5 separate regions of the Homo sapiens genome follow, and regions 1, 2, 4 and 5 are each linked to region 3. Evidence: promoter capture Hi-C in 16 types of primary human blood cells and fetal thymus (Javierre and others, 2016). All regions are on one chromosome and are shown on one strand. The core of a region is centred on a gene start or on the middle of the fragment in contact, and the rest is flanking DNA. Distances in the headings are between cores, read along the strand shown. Region 1 overlaps LOC102723568 (a long non-coding RNA gene). Region 2 holds the start of LOC105376624 (a long non-coding RNA gene). Region 3 holds the start of SLC1A2 (solute carrier family 1 member 2). Region 4 overlaps APIP (APAF1 interacting protein). Region 5 overlaps LOC102723568 (a long non-coding RNA gene).

What was found. Contacts are between HindIII fragments. The CHiCAGO score rates a contact against its expected background, and 5 or more counts as called.
Region 1: a fragment that was not itself captured here is called in contact with the fragment with the promoter of SLC1A2 in region 3 in 1 of 17 cell types (activated CD4 T cells); the score reaches 6.7 in activated CD4 T cells.
Region 2: a fragment that was not itself captured here is called in contact with the fragment with the promoter of SLC1A2 in region 3 in 6 of 17 cell types (non-activated CD4 T cells, activated CD4 T cells, naive CD4 T cells and 3 more); the score reaches 6.5 in non-activated CD4 T cells.
Region 4: a contact is called between a fragment that was not itself captured here and the fragment with the promoter of SLC1A2 in region 3, in 12 of 17 cell types (naive CD4 T cells, activated CD4 T cells, non-activated CD4 T cells and 9 more). The highest score is 10.7, in naive CD4 T cells.
Region 5: a contact is called between a fragment that was not itself captured here and the fragment with the promoter of SLC1A2 in region 3, in 1 of 17 cell types (activated CD4 T cells). The highest score is 8.1, in activated CD4 T cells.

What each region holds. Positions count from the first base shown.
Region 1 is chr11:34,837,003-34,839,702 of GRCh38, forward strand. The region is part of intron 6 of LOC102723568 (a long non-coding RNA gene); the gene reads left to right. Among named protein-coding and RNA genes, the nearest start is that of APIP, 78 kb to the right of the region's middle. The HindIII fragment of the contact is 6,181 bases long and covers 1-2,700 here.
Region 2 is chr11:34,873,571-34,876,270 of GRCh38, forward strand. The region is part of intron 6 of LOC102723568 (a long non-coding RNA gene); the gene reads left to right. It overlaps LOC105376624 (a long non-coding RNA gene), which reads right to left and starts at 1,708. Exons shown (of 2, transcript XR_931185.2): 1 at 1,597-1,708. The HindIII fragment of the contact is 2,044 bases long and covers 286-2,329 here.
Region 3 is chr11:35,418,250-35,420,949 of GRCh38, forward strand. It overlaps SLC1A2 (solute carrier family 1 member 2), which reads right to left and starts at 1,309. Exons shown (of 11, transcript NM_004171.4): 1 at 701-1,309. The coding sequence starts at 717. It overlaps SLC1A2-AS2 (SLC1A2 antisense RNA 2), which reads left to right and starts at 808. Exons shown (of 2, transcript NR_186310.1): 1 at 808-858; 2 at 2,287-2,700. RefSeq lists an enhancer at 955-1,455. The HindIII fragment of the contact is 13,046 bases long and covers 1-2,700 here.
Region 4 is chr11:34,892,101-34,894,800 of GRCh38, forward strand. All of the region lies in intron 2 of APIP (APAF1 interacting protein), which reads right to left. Among named protein-coding and RNA genes, the nearest start is that of APIP, 23 kb to the right of the region's middle. The HindIII fragment of the contact is 221 bases long and covers 1,235-1,455 here.
Region 5 is chr11:34,856,696-34,859,395 of GRCh38, forward strand. The region is part of intron 6 of LOC102723568 (a long non-coding RNA gene); the gene reads left to right. All of the region lies in intron 1 of LOC105376624 (a long non-coding RNA gene), which reads right to left. Among named protein-coding and RNA genes, the nearest start is that of APIP, 58 kb to the right of the region's middle. The HindIII fragment of the contact is 3,549 bases long and covers 1-2,700 here.

The DNA.
Region 1 (2,700 bases), core at 33-2,532, 580 kb before region 3:
CACCCTGCTGCCCTTAGCCAACTCACTTGGGACGTTTCAGATGGAAGGCAGCAGCGGGACAAGTCTCTGCAGAAACACTGGGGTTTAGGTGCTGCCATTAACAATGCAAATTCAGGGGAGTGTCAGCTGATTTATTCAACAGCACCTTTGGCATGTCCTCGCACCCCACTCAGTTTCATCTATCATCCCCTGTCAGCCCTGGGAGCGGGCTGGATGGGCTACATGTGCTAACCAAGTTCCATTAATATTGTCTCAGGGCTCTGGATTTATGGAGGCTTATTTCTTAATTTTTGGATTCCAATGATTACAGTTATGAGATCCTGTCATAGTCCTGTAGGCTCTCACCCTCTCTCTGAATGTTTCTGTTTTCTTTACCAAGGAGCAGACAACTCATTTCCTTCTTTCTCAGCCTGCAGGGTCTGGCCCTGTCTGCCTCTCAGAGTGCACTGCCAGCCCCTACCCTGGCCCTCTCCAGCCTCCAGTAGCTCAGCTGACCCCATGACCTTTGCAATGCTTCTCTTTTCTCCTTGTATACCTCTCCCCTTCCCACCTTTCTCCATTCTCCAGCCTCTTCTCCCAGTTCAGTGAGTCTCCACTGGGGGTGATGCTGCCCTGCAGGGGACATCTGGCAATGTCTGCAGGCATTTTGACTGTCACAACTGGGGCTAGTGGGTGGTGCTACTGGCATCTAGTGGGTGGAGGTCAAGGCTGCTGCTCAAGATTCTACAAGGCACATGACAGCCTCCCCTGCCTTCAAAGAATGATCCAGCCCAAAGCATTAATTAGGGCTGAGATTGAGAAACCCTGCTCCAGCTAAGCAAATCATCAGCTGAAACTCAAGGATCACTTTCTCTCCTGGGGAAGCTGGCTCAGAGGGCACTCTCCTGCCATCCTCACCCCAACACCACCACCATCACCACCCAAATGCACACCAGACTATGCCATTTTCAGGGCATACCCCTTCTTTCCTTTAGGGTACTCATTTTAGTTTGTCCCCCATTGTATTTCTGTGCTCTGTGTGATGAGTATCTACCCCCACACTCAAAGCTGCACAAGATCGGGGACTTCTTGCTGATCCTGTATCTGTGTCTATGATCGAGTGTCTGTGTCTGTGATCAGCACTGGATCCCCAGGGCAGAGCAGGTTGCTTGATGCACAGTAGGTTCTCAACAAACAATTGAAACAATCAATGAATCCTCCTTCTATGCCTCTTTGGAGGGCCCACCAGATTCAGGGCAGCCTCTAAGACCTGCCGAACTGAAATTGTGGGGAAAGGGTCAGCCTGTGTGTACCACTGGGAGCAGAGAGTGAGGGGTGAACACATCTGGATAAACTTCCTCACCCCTCTGTCAGCAAATATTTATTGAGGCACTTATTTTATGCCAGGAACTGTTGGATATTAATTGCAGTCATGTACAAGACGGATGTAAGTCTTGACCTCATCGATCTTTGATCTTTTGGAAAGACAGTCATCAAATGAGTGATGAATGTTTCAAAGGGAAAGGAAGTGGGGCTGTGGATACCCATGCTGGGAAAATCTAAACTTGTCTAGGTGGGAAGGATGAAAGGGCTCTTTTTTCTTCTTCCTCTTTTGTGTGGTCCTCCTCTTTGACCTCTACCTCCCATCTCAGGGCTGGGATTAATGTGACCTATGTTCAAAGTTATCTTTGGGAATCATCCCAAAGCAGATAGGCACAACCTAAGGGTGTACAAGACAACTACTGGGAGATAAATAGAAAATATTAGATCTTGTTATATTTATTTTAATGTCATCCTTGTTTGAATTTTTATCTAGGAGTATGTTTTATAATCTCCAAATTGGGTCCATAGAAGCAGACTCTGAAACATAGAGTTGCAGGCAGGTTTGTTGGGGAGTAGTCCCAGTTGGTACACTTGGGACTGTATCAACTTGCCACTATATGGAAGTGAGGAGGGCAGTACTGGGCATAGGAGAAAGCTGACCTAAAATGCACATGCAACAGAGGTCTCAACAAACCCTACCGGGAGCTCCGGGGCTGTGATAGCCCTTGAGAGTGGTCTTGCATTGAGGCAATGGAGTGGGGTCTTTATATCCCCATCAGTCAGTCACTGGCTACAAGCCACCCTCTGGGAGTACATGGCCTTGGGTGAGCTGTTTGTTATAGCCAAGGGCAGTTTCCAATCAGGAATGTAGCTGTGAGGCTTTGGCAACAAATATTTCCAGTTGCTGGGAGGTGGTGGCATTAACTCTAAAGAGAGGGTCTAGGCAGAGCACCACAGTGTCCACCACAAGAATCTATTTCTACAGCAATACATGTGAATTCCACACGTGTGCGCATGCATATGCATGCACTCACATACACACACACTTCAAAAATTGTGTGTGTGTGACCCAAAATGTTATGCTGGTAGGGGCATGCCATATAGATAATGTGGTGACCACCAATTTAGAGTAGATGTACCCAAATGATAAAAGGAGTTGTTTTTATCAGTCTGCCCCCACTCTCCCATTATCATTATGGGCATCATTTCAAAAACGTTTCTCCCAAGCTGCTATAATAAATAATGCATTTATTCCCTCATTTTGAAAATAACAAAGGACAAAACAACTGTGGGTGATAGAAAACAAGACAGAGAACAACCAAAACTAATTTGATTTGGAATTCTGATATGATTGTATTTTTGTTAGCACAGTGGTTAGGAGTCTGGGTTTAAAGCCTG
Region 2 (2,700 bases), core at 58-2,557, 540 kb before region 3:
TGCTTCCTCCTTTAAGATGTAAGTATTAGAAGGCATTTGCTTTTAAAAAATTCAATTTTCATCAAATTTTAAAATCGTATCCAGTCTGTAGGCTTCCTAATCCATTGTTTTATATAACTAGAAATATCTTCTTAGTGTCTTTATCCATGCCTGTTCCAGATAGCTTAACTGAATGAAAATTACTGAAGGTCCCTAAAGCTACTAAATGAGGCTTTTTTTCCCAATAAAGAATAAACTTCTGCAGATTTTCAGCTTTTTTTCCAAAATGTTTTCATATATCTTTAAAGCTTTCTCATTAATTATAAGAAATCTTGCCCTAATTGCTTTAAAACAATGTGCTGAGAAAAATTGTGTATGAATCCATGCAATTTCCATATTATACCAATGTACCAATATCATTCCTTTATTTACCAATTTTGTATGAAGTAATATACATAAAAGACTTGAGTCTCATCAAGATTAATGCGAGTTAGCCTTTTATTTCATGCAATTGCATAGCATTTGGTTTGATATACTATTAGACATTGTGTAAGACTCTATTATGAAATAAATCATCTCAAAATAACTTTTAAAAAAGCAAATCTGTTCATCTCTTCTGACTCAAAAGGCTGAAGGTGAATCCAAAGGTACTGCTAAATCCAAGTACTAAAATGCTGTAGTAGAAATATTTCTATATCTTGGCTCTGCTTTTTATACTTTTCTTTGTGTGTTGGTTTCATTCTCTTCAAACACAGACAGGCTTTCTTTATCTGGCAGTGGAGTTGGGTCCTGGCACCTCTCCTTGAGTTAGGAACCTAAGACTTTGAACCCCTCTGTAGGCAGGGAAATGGTGTGCTATGACTGGCCACGACTGGCCAGGTCCGGGTCACGTGGTTATGGCTGCAGCAAGAGGGCAGGCAGAATACTGTGACTGACATCATCCCAGAGCCTCAAGGGATGTGGGTGAGTGGAGGTGGCTCCTATGAGTGAGGGAAACTGGGTAGACACCAACAGCAGCTTACCTCTACCTACGTACCAACACTTGAGCACTGAACAAGTACTGAGTACGAAAGAAGATTTGCTGAAATTTGGAGTTACAAGACCCTTAGAAAATGCCAATCAGAAAATGAAAGTTAAGTGATTCTGCTCAAGGTCAATGTAAAATTATTAAAAATGCTAATGATATGGGCAGGAGGCGAGGAAATACTAGGTAGAAGAGGGCAGTTCCCTGGCAAAGGCCCCACCCTCAAGCCTGGAAACCCATGGACCTAAATGGGAACAGGCATCCCTGTTTTCACGCCCAAATGTTGCCTTTTCTAAGACCACTCTGGCCTGCCATGCCCCTATTCTGTGCCCACATAAACCCCAAGCTCCACGAGCAGAGGAACAGAAGAGTAGCAGAACGACAGAGCAGCAGAGTGGCATGGCATAGAAGAAGAGAAGAGAAGGAGCGTCTGAACATCAACAGGAGTTCAGCTGGGGACAGTCAGAGAGGAGATCGGCTGTGGGGCAGCCAAACTCTGGGGGAATATCACCTTCCCATTCCATCCTCTTTCCAGCTCCCCATCCATCCCACTGAGAGCTACTTCTATCACCCAATAAAATCCCTGCACTCACCATCCTTCAAGTCTGAGTGACCTGAATCTTCCTGGACGCTGGATGATATGGTTTGGCTCTGTGTCCCCACTCAAATCTCATCTTGTAGCTCCCATAATTCCGTGTTGTGGGAGGGACCTGGTGGGAGATAATTGAATCATGGGGGCGGGTCTTTCCTCTGCTGTTCTCATGATAGTAAGTCTCACAACATCAGATGGCTTTAAAAATGGGAGTTTGCCTGCACAAGTTCTCTCCTCTTGCCTGCTGCCATGTGAGATACGCTTTTCACCTTCTGCCATGATTGTGAAGCCTGCCCAGCTACGTGGAACTATGAGTCCAATAAGCCTCTTTCTTTTGTAAATTGCCTGGTCTCCGGTATGTCTTATCAGCAGTGTGAAAACAGACTAATACACCGGACAAGGATCCAGGTACCAAGAGGGCAGGGTGTAAAAGGCTGTCACCCTGACTCTCTACTGAGCTGGTTTAACACTTAGCCGTCCACAAATGGCAACTACTAAAAGAGCATTAATTGTAACACACCCCTAAACGCTACTGGGGCTGGAGCCCAAAAGCACTCGCCCCGCCCCAGCTCTTGCCCCCGCCCATCCGTGTGCTCGCCCTCCCGAAAGGAGTTCGAGCCTGTAGTGGCTGAGCACATGAGCGACACCTCTGTCATAAGTCCTGTGAGGGATCAGGGAACTCTCCCGTTTCACTAACATATGCTGAGAAAATGGGTGTCAGGTGAGAAAGTCTAAGCTTAAGACAGAAGATTAAAAGAAAAAAACAAAAGATGTATGTTTAAAGAATAAAAAGGAAGAGAAGAAAAAGGCAAAGAAGAAGGTTATAAGGCAACAAATAAAATCTCTCAAATTAAGAATAAATGGACAGAAGGAATTGAAGGGAAGAAAAACTAGAAGGAAAACCTCAGTCCTAGGGTGTGAAAGCATTAACAAGGATTATGAGTGATAATAGACATGTATTATTTTAGATTTGGCTTATTGTAGAGTTTTTTTTATTTCATATTGGAACTATAGATGATTCATTTCTTAAATAAATAGGAAAAATGCCTGAACAATATGTGAATGGCATTGAATTATTGAAGATTAAGGCTTATAGTTAAGGCTT
Region 3 (2,700 bases), core at 59-2,558:
GGAGGCAGGACACGACTCCAGATCCTCGGGCTGAATAGGGAAGCCAATGCTATCCCTGCCCGCTGGAGTCTGGCGACTCCTGCCCTTGTCCCAAACCACACGTTTTCCCGCCTCCCGGGAAGCACCCAAATCTCTTCCACCCTTCCTTAGAGCTAGCCAGGGAGATTCCGCCTTCCAGGGACAAGGACCGATCGGAGCGGGCCCAGCATCTCCATGGCGACTCTGCAAACCTGGCGTTCAAGGCCGCGCGCGCTGGTCCTTGCCCCGCCCCAGGGCCCTGTCTTGGCTCATTCCTTCCGAGCCGGCACCACCTGCAAGCCCGCCTCGGGCCTGGGGCGCCGCGCTCCAGGCGCTGCTACCCCGGTGTCTGCTCACACTATGCCCAATCCCCTATTGTTTTGAAATCCCAAAAGTAACCTCAAGAGGATTTCTTCCTCACACTCTCAGGCCCCCAGCGCACCTTACCCTTTTTATCAAAATAAAACAACCCTCCACCTCTCGCATTTTCAAAGGATTAAGCAGCAATCTCCAGGAAAGAAAATCAATCCCCTCCCCACCATCCCATCCCCAGCCAAGCTACGGCTCCGCCACCACCTCCGAGGCCCGCCGCCGCCGCCTCTCTATCCGCATCCCGGATAGGGGCGCCACCACCCCGCGCGTGACCCCGCTTTCCCGCGGGTACAGATAAAAATCCCCTCACCCTTCCGTAGATGCCATGGTCTGGGGAACGCCCCCTCCTCTTCAGCACTATCCGGCAGCTGTGGGCGAGGGAGAAAGCGGACGCCGGGGTGAGCGCGAAGTGCGGCCGGGAGCGGTATTTAAGAGGAGCCTCTGCCCGCCCTTCCACCCGCCTCCGGGGTAAGCCCTTTAGCGCCTCAACGGGCGCAGGAGGCTCCTGCGGGCGCTAATCCGCGTCCCGGCTCTCCACGGCGCGCGACCCGCGCTCCCCTCCGCCCGCGGGGATGGCGCTTGGCGGGGAGCTCCGGGGGCTCCGAGGGTGGCTTCCCCGAGAGAGCGATGCGCCCAGGGCTGCAGGAGGGCGCACGCCGGCGATGCGCCCCTGCAGCCGCTGCCACCTGTGCTTTGCTGCGGGGCTCGCGGGCGCGGCGAGTGGCGGGAGCAGAGAGTGGTGGCAGAGGACGGTGAGCGTGCGTGCGCGTGTGCGGGTGTGTGCGCGCCTGGGGAGGCGGTGGAGGCCGCTGCGCTCTGGCTCGGCGCCGGCCAGGGAGGGATTGCAAGGTTTAGCCCCGCCGGAGCTGGGGATTTGCAGGCGATCCCTCTCTATTTTCGTCGAGAGCTGACATCACCCGCGCCGCCGCCTCGGGCAACTCCTTTAACCGCCGCCCCCCGCCCCCATCTCCAGTCGCGGTCCCTCCTCTGCCATCCCTCCCCCCAGCCTCTCGCCATAAATTAGCCAAATAAGAAAAGAGGCCCCGCCGCTCGTCCGGGAAGGCTTGGGCAGCCGGTGGCAGGAGCCCAGGATCTAAGGAGTAGCTATTGTTTCCCCTGAAGCCCGCGTGGCCCCAGGTCACCCCGTGCGGGGTGAAGCGCAGGCGACCGCGCGGAGACCCGGGATGCCCCTCCGTCTCCGCCTCCCTGGAGCAGCCCCTGGCGCTCCCTCCTCACTCCCCGGAGCACCCGCTTCAGCTCACACTCACCCCCAAACTCACAGGCAGGCACACCCACCCCATCCTCCCACGTCTGGGGGTCCCAGGTCCAGCGGAGTCGAGCGGCTGAAACACGCGGGTGGTGCAGCCTAAACGCGGCCCAGCTGCGCTCCCTCCCCCGCCGAAGCTCGAATAAATCTCTGGCCTTCAATTATTCAGCGAGATTAATATTAATGCAGCTCCCTGGGGGCGGCGGGCGGGGTGCAGGGGAGGCCGGGATTTTTTTTTTTTTTTTTTAGGCCGAGAGAGGTCGGCCTCGTGGGTGCCGGCTGAGAAGGCGCGGAGAGTTGGCCGAGGGGTGAGTGGCGGGGGACGGTTCTCCACCCACTCGGCGCTGCTCGCCGCCTGCTTCCGTGTCCCGGGGGCGGCGCACAGAGACAGATGGGCTTGTGCAAGGGAGAGTTCGAGCCTTCCGGACGCCTTTGCATAAAAATGACGAGACCTGTGCAGCTTTGATTATCTCTGGAATACTGCAGGAACCTAGGGTCCCACTACTTGCCGACCCTGTGAGCGCAGAGCAGGCAAAGCCTCACTTTCCTCGTCTAGGCAATGGAACCCAAAAGAACTCACTTGGAGGGCCACAGGAGAATTAAACAGACTCTCTTTTTCCCCGGGGTAGACGATCTTCGGATTTGCGCTGTGCTGGACCTTGTTAGACGATGGAACGCGACCGGCCACGTGCAAACTCTCTGAGTAGGTCCCGGGGATGGTGCCAGAGGAGCCGGAGTCCCAGCAGGACCGATTGGTAGTTAAATGCCAGGCGCTGATATCCGAAGGCTTGAGTTCTTCACCACCTTCTAGCTGAGTAACCTGGGGCAAATTCCTCCATCTCTCTCTTCATCCCACCTGTAAAATGGGACTATCTTCTCCCACTTCTCTGTGCTAAGAGAACTAAATGAAATGGAGAGGATATGTAAAACTCCTAAAGTGGCGTCTGGCACCCAGTAAACCCTCCAAAAATATTCAGTGCATTTTCAGAGTCCTTAGAAGATAGTTTATTGGACAAAATATCCAAGTATGAACAGACAGATGA
Region 4 (2,700 bases), core at 95-2,594, 530 kb before region 3:
GAAATTAATTTAGACTTTGATGAACTTTGGGTAATTAAAAGATTAGCCAAATGTTTTAGAAAAATATATTTACACCTACAAAGAAAGAGATATCTGGATAAAAATATAAAAATGACAGAGCTTTTTAGAATAGAAACATGCCAAATATTAAAGTGAAATATCTACTTGGTGCTTTAAGCCACAAACAGAAAGCATTTTGAATTTCAAGTTACTAAATTTTGGAATATACTTCTCTGTACTCCTGCATTTTCACTGTGGTAAGCAAGGGCCAAACCCCAAGAGGTCAAAATACATCTATGTTCAGTTGCTTCTATTTTTATTTGCTTTCTGGTCAGTTAAAAAATAATTTAAATCTTATAGTGCCTCAATTATTTTGTCTACAATGTGACTTTATTAATTGTAGTCCTAATCACATGCAACAGGATCAGTCTCTCTGACACCTGTCAATATTACTCTGTGAAAACAGGAAATTATAAATTTGAATGATAGCGACCCAACCTAAACACAGTAGCTATTGAGTATCCTGGAATTGCCTTGATTACTATTATTTTCTTGGTCATTTATTTCCTTCTTCTGACTTAATTTTTGGTACCACATACTTGTAGCATAAGCTGGAATGGTCCAGTCAAATCTTGGAATTAGTAAATCATTTTATGTTCCCAAAGAGCTTATTGTCTGTATTATTCTGGAAACATAATTTATTGCGTTTGCATTTTATTCCAAATTTATTTGCCCTAAGCATCAAAGAGCCAAACTTTCACTAACAACATGAGAATAGTATTGCTGATAATGCTAGTGACTTATTAAGTCATTTAAATATTAGGGAAAAAAACCAACATTTTACTACAAAATATTCATTTTACTATGTAAAGCACAAATTTAATAAGATTCCAAATACAGTGCCATGTGACTGTGGCTCTTTCCTTCCATGACCTCCACACCCATTAAGAACTAAGGATAAAGCATTTCACATATATGATGAAAATTTCCTATGAGCTGATTTTAGTGCTATAAAAGCCCATTTAATTTTAAAAGATGCGCCAATGAGTGGTTTATGGTGGTCACATAAAATGGTAGTGCATGGATTAGTAAAATTCTACTAGAAAGAACATAGTCCTTTATGTCTTTTTGATCAAAAATATTTCATCTTGAGTCCTGCATTCACCTATTTTTAACTTTGCTAGTTTTTTTAAAGAGCCAGTTGGAAATGGTTATTTTAGCTCATTTGGTAGAAAGCTTTATTTTATACATACACAAACTATTTCTGAACATGCAAATAAAAAGCAGTTAACTAAAGACAGCATTTAGAATATGATTTATTATAAATAATACAGTTGGGAAACTATATTACTGGGACTCAACTTCTAAATGGATACATGAAACAAGAATAAATGTTGTTATCGTAGGATTTGCTGTGAATAGGCCATCTTGAAAGTTTTGGCAAAATAATGTGAAAGCTTGAGCAATGCTGTATTTACACATTAGCAACTAGGCTGATGGTAAGAGAGGAGGCACAGATGGATTTATTGATCTACCATATGGAACATAATCTTACTAGACTGAGAGCATACTTTTATCCCTAACTGTGCCAGTTGTTAACAGAGGAACCTCTTGTCATTTCCCAATGTTCAATGAAAATTTCATGAGTTAACTCAGTAATTTAAAGCAGATAAAATTATAATGGCATCATCTTGTGGTGTACCATTGAATCCCTTTTGTTCCCAATGTTCTGATTATATTTTACATTCCATTCCTTAATATGCAATGCAGCCTCCTTGGGGGCATGACTATATATATTCAACAGCACATAAATATTTTAATAATCCAATTTTGTTAAAGAAAGTGAATTAGAATGAAGTAATAAATCAACATCACTCAATTTAACACACAACCTCCAGACAATAATATTCCTAACACATTTCAGGAGGAAAAAAAGATTAATCCTGTATTGGAAATCCTTGAATGAGATTCTATAATCTTAATTTCATTGATAGCAAGTTACTTCTTACTCACAGTTACTAATACTTACTTTATTTCTTCATCTTCTTGAATAAATGACACTAAATAAATACAATGAGCAATTGAATACTATTTATCCTTTCTGCTTCAATTTAAGTCCAGTACATCTTGTTTTGTCCTCTGAGGAATACAGATTAGCAGGCACTATATTCATTAATGATACAGGTGCTTAGAAAGCATACTGCCGTTCTTTTGATTCAATAAAAAATAATTATTAGGATTTTTAATGATTAGTCATCTGTATTTAAGTGACTTTGAAATATGTATCTGGGAGGTCAAGGCAGGTGGGTTGCTTGAGCCTAGGAGTTTGAGACCAGCCCATGCAACTTAGTGAGACCCAGTCTCTACAAAAAAAAAAAAAAAAAAAACCCCAGAAAAAATTAGCCAGGCGTGGTCGCACATGCCTGTAGTCCCAGCTGCCCAGGAGGATGAGGTAGGAGGATTGTTTAAGCCTGGGAAGTCAAGGCTGCAGTGAGCCATGATCGCCCCACTGCACTCCAGCCTGGGTGACAGAGCAAGACTCTGTTTCAAAAACCAAAGTACCTGAACCTTTGAAACAAATCCTATCTACCTAGAGAGGATCCTCTAGAATCTCAGGTATATGAACATACTTGGTAGCATGTTATTTAACTCTGGTACTCAAAAACTGAGTATTAAGTTATTGTGATTTGAAATTGTGGA
Region 5 (2,700 bases), core at 34-2,533, 560 kb before region 3:
CCAAAATTTTTAAATGTGTAGTGACATAGCTGCAAATTATGACATAGGCTAATTTCATCAATTATTAAATTAAGTATTCATAAACATCTCATTATAGGTGCAAGCATTTGTGGATTAGTTTTTCTCACTTGAATCGTCTTACAGGTACCCAATGATTGCTAAGAAATCATAACCAATTTTGAATCAAAGGAATTACTAATACAAAAATAATTTGAAAACCAAATTAGAAAAAAACTACATTTTTTTGCCCCCAAATTATATTGGATGTGTGTACATCTGAATATGTTTCATAAGATATGGGAGGAGCTGCCTAGGACTTAGGGACCCTCAAGTGCTCTGGGTAAGGGTCATTTCCCTTCCCTGGGATACTCTCTGTAATTGTCTATACAGTTCATGTTCTTTCTCTGCTTTAAACTTTTAAAGGAAATTCCCTTTTCTTTATTCTAATCCACTGGGCTCCTTGACTATTTCTTTAGCAACCAAATGTAGAGAGACTTCACATTTACTTGTGTTATGGACAACTTACATTCGTATATTTTTATTTTGAGGCCTTTCTTGAATCTATTATATGTATTTATGCTATATTTCAACTAAAGTGAGATACTTGGATGGAAAATCATTTATTTATTTATTCATTCATTCAATGAAACTACCATGTGTTGGGTGCTTAGAATATGAAGTTGAGTAAAGCAAAATACTTGGCCTGTTCTTTCAAGACATTCACAATCTCGAAAAGAAGGTAGGCAGGAAAGAAGATAAGTTGCTGCACAATTGCCTCCTGGCTGTTGACTATCTGTTGCTCAGACTGCTTCTGGGCTCAACAAGTTTTTATTTATTTAATAAGCAGTTTCTGTGTGTCAGCACTATTCTCAATGCAGATGCTGTTTAACACTCTTATGAATTTATTTCTCGAGGCAGTCCTATGAGGCATTACCATTATCCCCATTTTGCAGATGAGGACAATTGAGACACAGAGAAGTTGAGTAATTTGCTTAGGGTCCTTTACACAACAAATAAGTAGCAGAGGCGAAATTTGAACCCAACCAGCCTGGCCCCAGAGCCCATACTGCTGGTTTGTAGGTTATGAACTAAACCATATGATCAGTACTAGTGGGGTTCAGAAAATGTTTCATAACTAATTAGGCACAGTTCAGATGAAATAGGCAGGGAAGTCTCCACTAAGGAAGTGATATTTCAATTGCTTTGTATGCATAGAAATTTGTCCAACAGATACATTTGGAGTACAGGATTAAGGAAAGGCATTCCAAGTAGAAAGAAAAGCCTATGGTATAGTCTATATAGATAAAACAAATATGTACCAATATTTGTTTTGAGAAATGCAGATAGTGTATATGGCTGGAACTTACTTTGCTTAGAGGGGATTGATAGAGATGGGACATGAAAGGAAACCAAGGAAAATCTAATCTTGTTGATCATTGTAAGGAGTTTGGCTTTTGGTCAGTTTTGATTTGGGTCTGTTAAATGTTGGTTGCCTCCCCTCCACTTCTACCCCTTCAATGAAAGAAAATATTGATCACTTTAACTATGCAGAAAAACGATTTTAATATGAATGGAAGAAAATGCCACAAAGTCACAAGTCAACCAACAAACTAGAATAAAATATTTGTACTGCACAGCACAGTCCGTTTTTCTTAATGTACTAAGTGTGAATACAAATCATTACAAGATTAAAGAAAAAGACCAACAAATCAAGAGACAAGCACCGAAACAGAATTTTTTTTTTTAAAAAAGGCATTTAAACATTAGTAAAGGTGCTTTGCCTACTTACAGTAAGAGAAATGCAAATGAAAACAAGAATAAGATATCATTGTCACTGTTGGTTCAGCAAAGACTGAAAATTTGGTAACACCCTGGCCTGGCCAGAGTTTGGGGAAACAGCCACTCGTATTGCTGGTAGGATGGTGACCTGGCACAACCTCTATGAGGTTTGTAATTGAGCAGTATCTACCAAAATCACACATGTACATATTTTTCAACCTGACAGTTATACTCCTGGGAATTTATTCTGCAGGTAGATTCACACATGGGTATGATATACTTACAATGATATGTATGTTATAACATTATTTGTAATAGCAAAACATTGAGGAACAAACCTAAACTAATAAAATTAAATAATTGATTAGGTCTCTTACGTGCATCCATATCATAAAATTCTTTGCTGTCTTTTTTTAAAGAGAAAGAGGTGGGGTCTCACTTTGTCACTCCAGCTGGTCTCGAACCCCTGGCTTCAAGCAATCCTCCTGCCTCAGCCTCCCAAAGTGCTGGGATTACCTATGTAAGCCATCGTGCCCAGTCACTTTGGTGTCTTTAAAGAGCAAGTCTGTCTGATATGTATCAATGTGGCAGAATCTTCAACACCTGATTTAAAAAAGTAGAGCACAGAATGATGGGTTAGGTTTGTTACCATTTGTATGTGAGTGTGCATTTAAGGAAATATATACATATAGGCTTGAAAGTGCATTAAAGACTTCTGGAAGAAGTGTAGGAAATTGGTACATTGGTCGCCTCTGGGAAAGGAAACATTGCAGTTAAGAAGAGAGGGATGGTGCACTTCTACTTCTTATTTATATGTTTTAAAATGTTGGTGACTGCACCCTCTTGCATTGTTCTGCATTTGGCAGGAAGGTCAGTTGATATATGTTTCATGGATTTAACTTTCCATAACACTCCAAACTA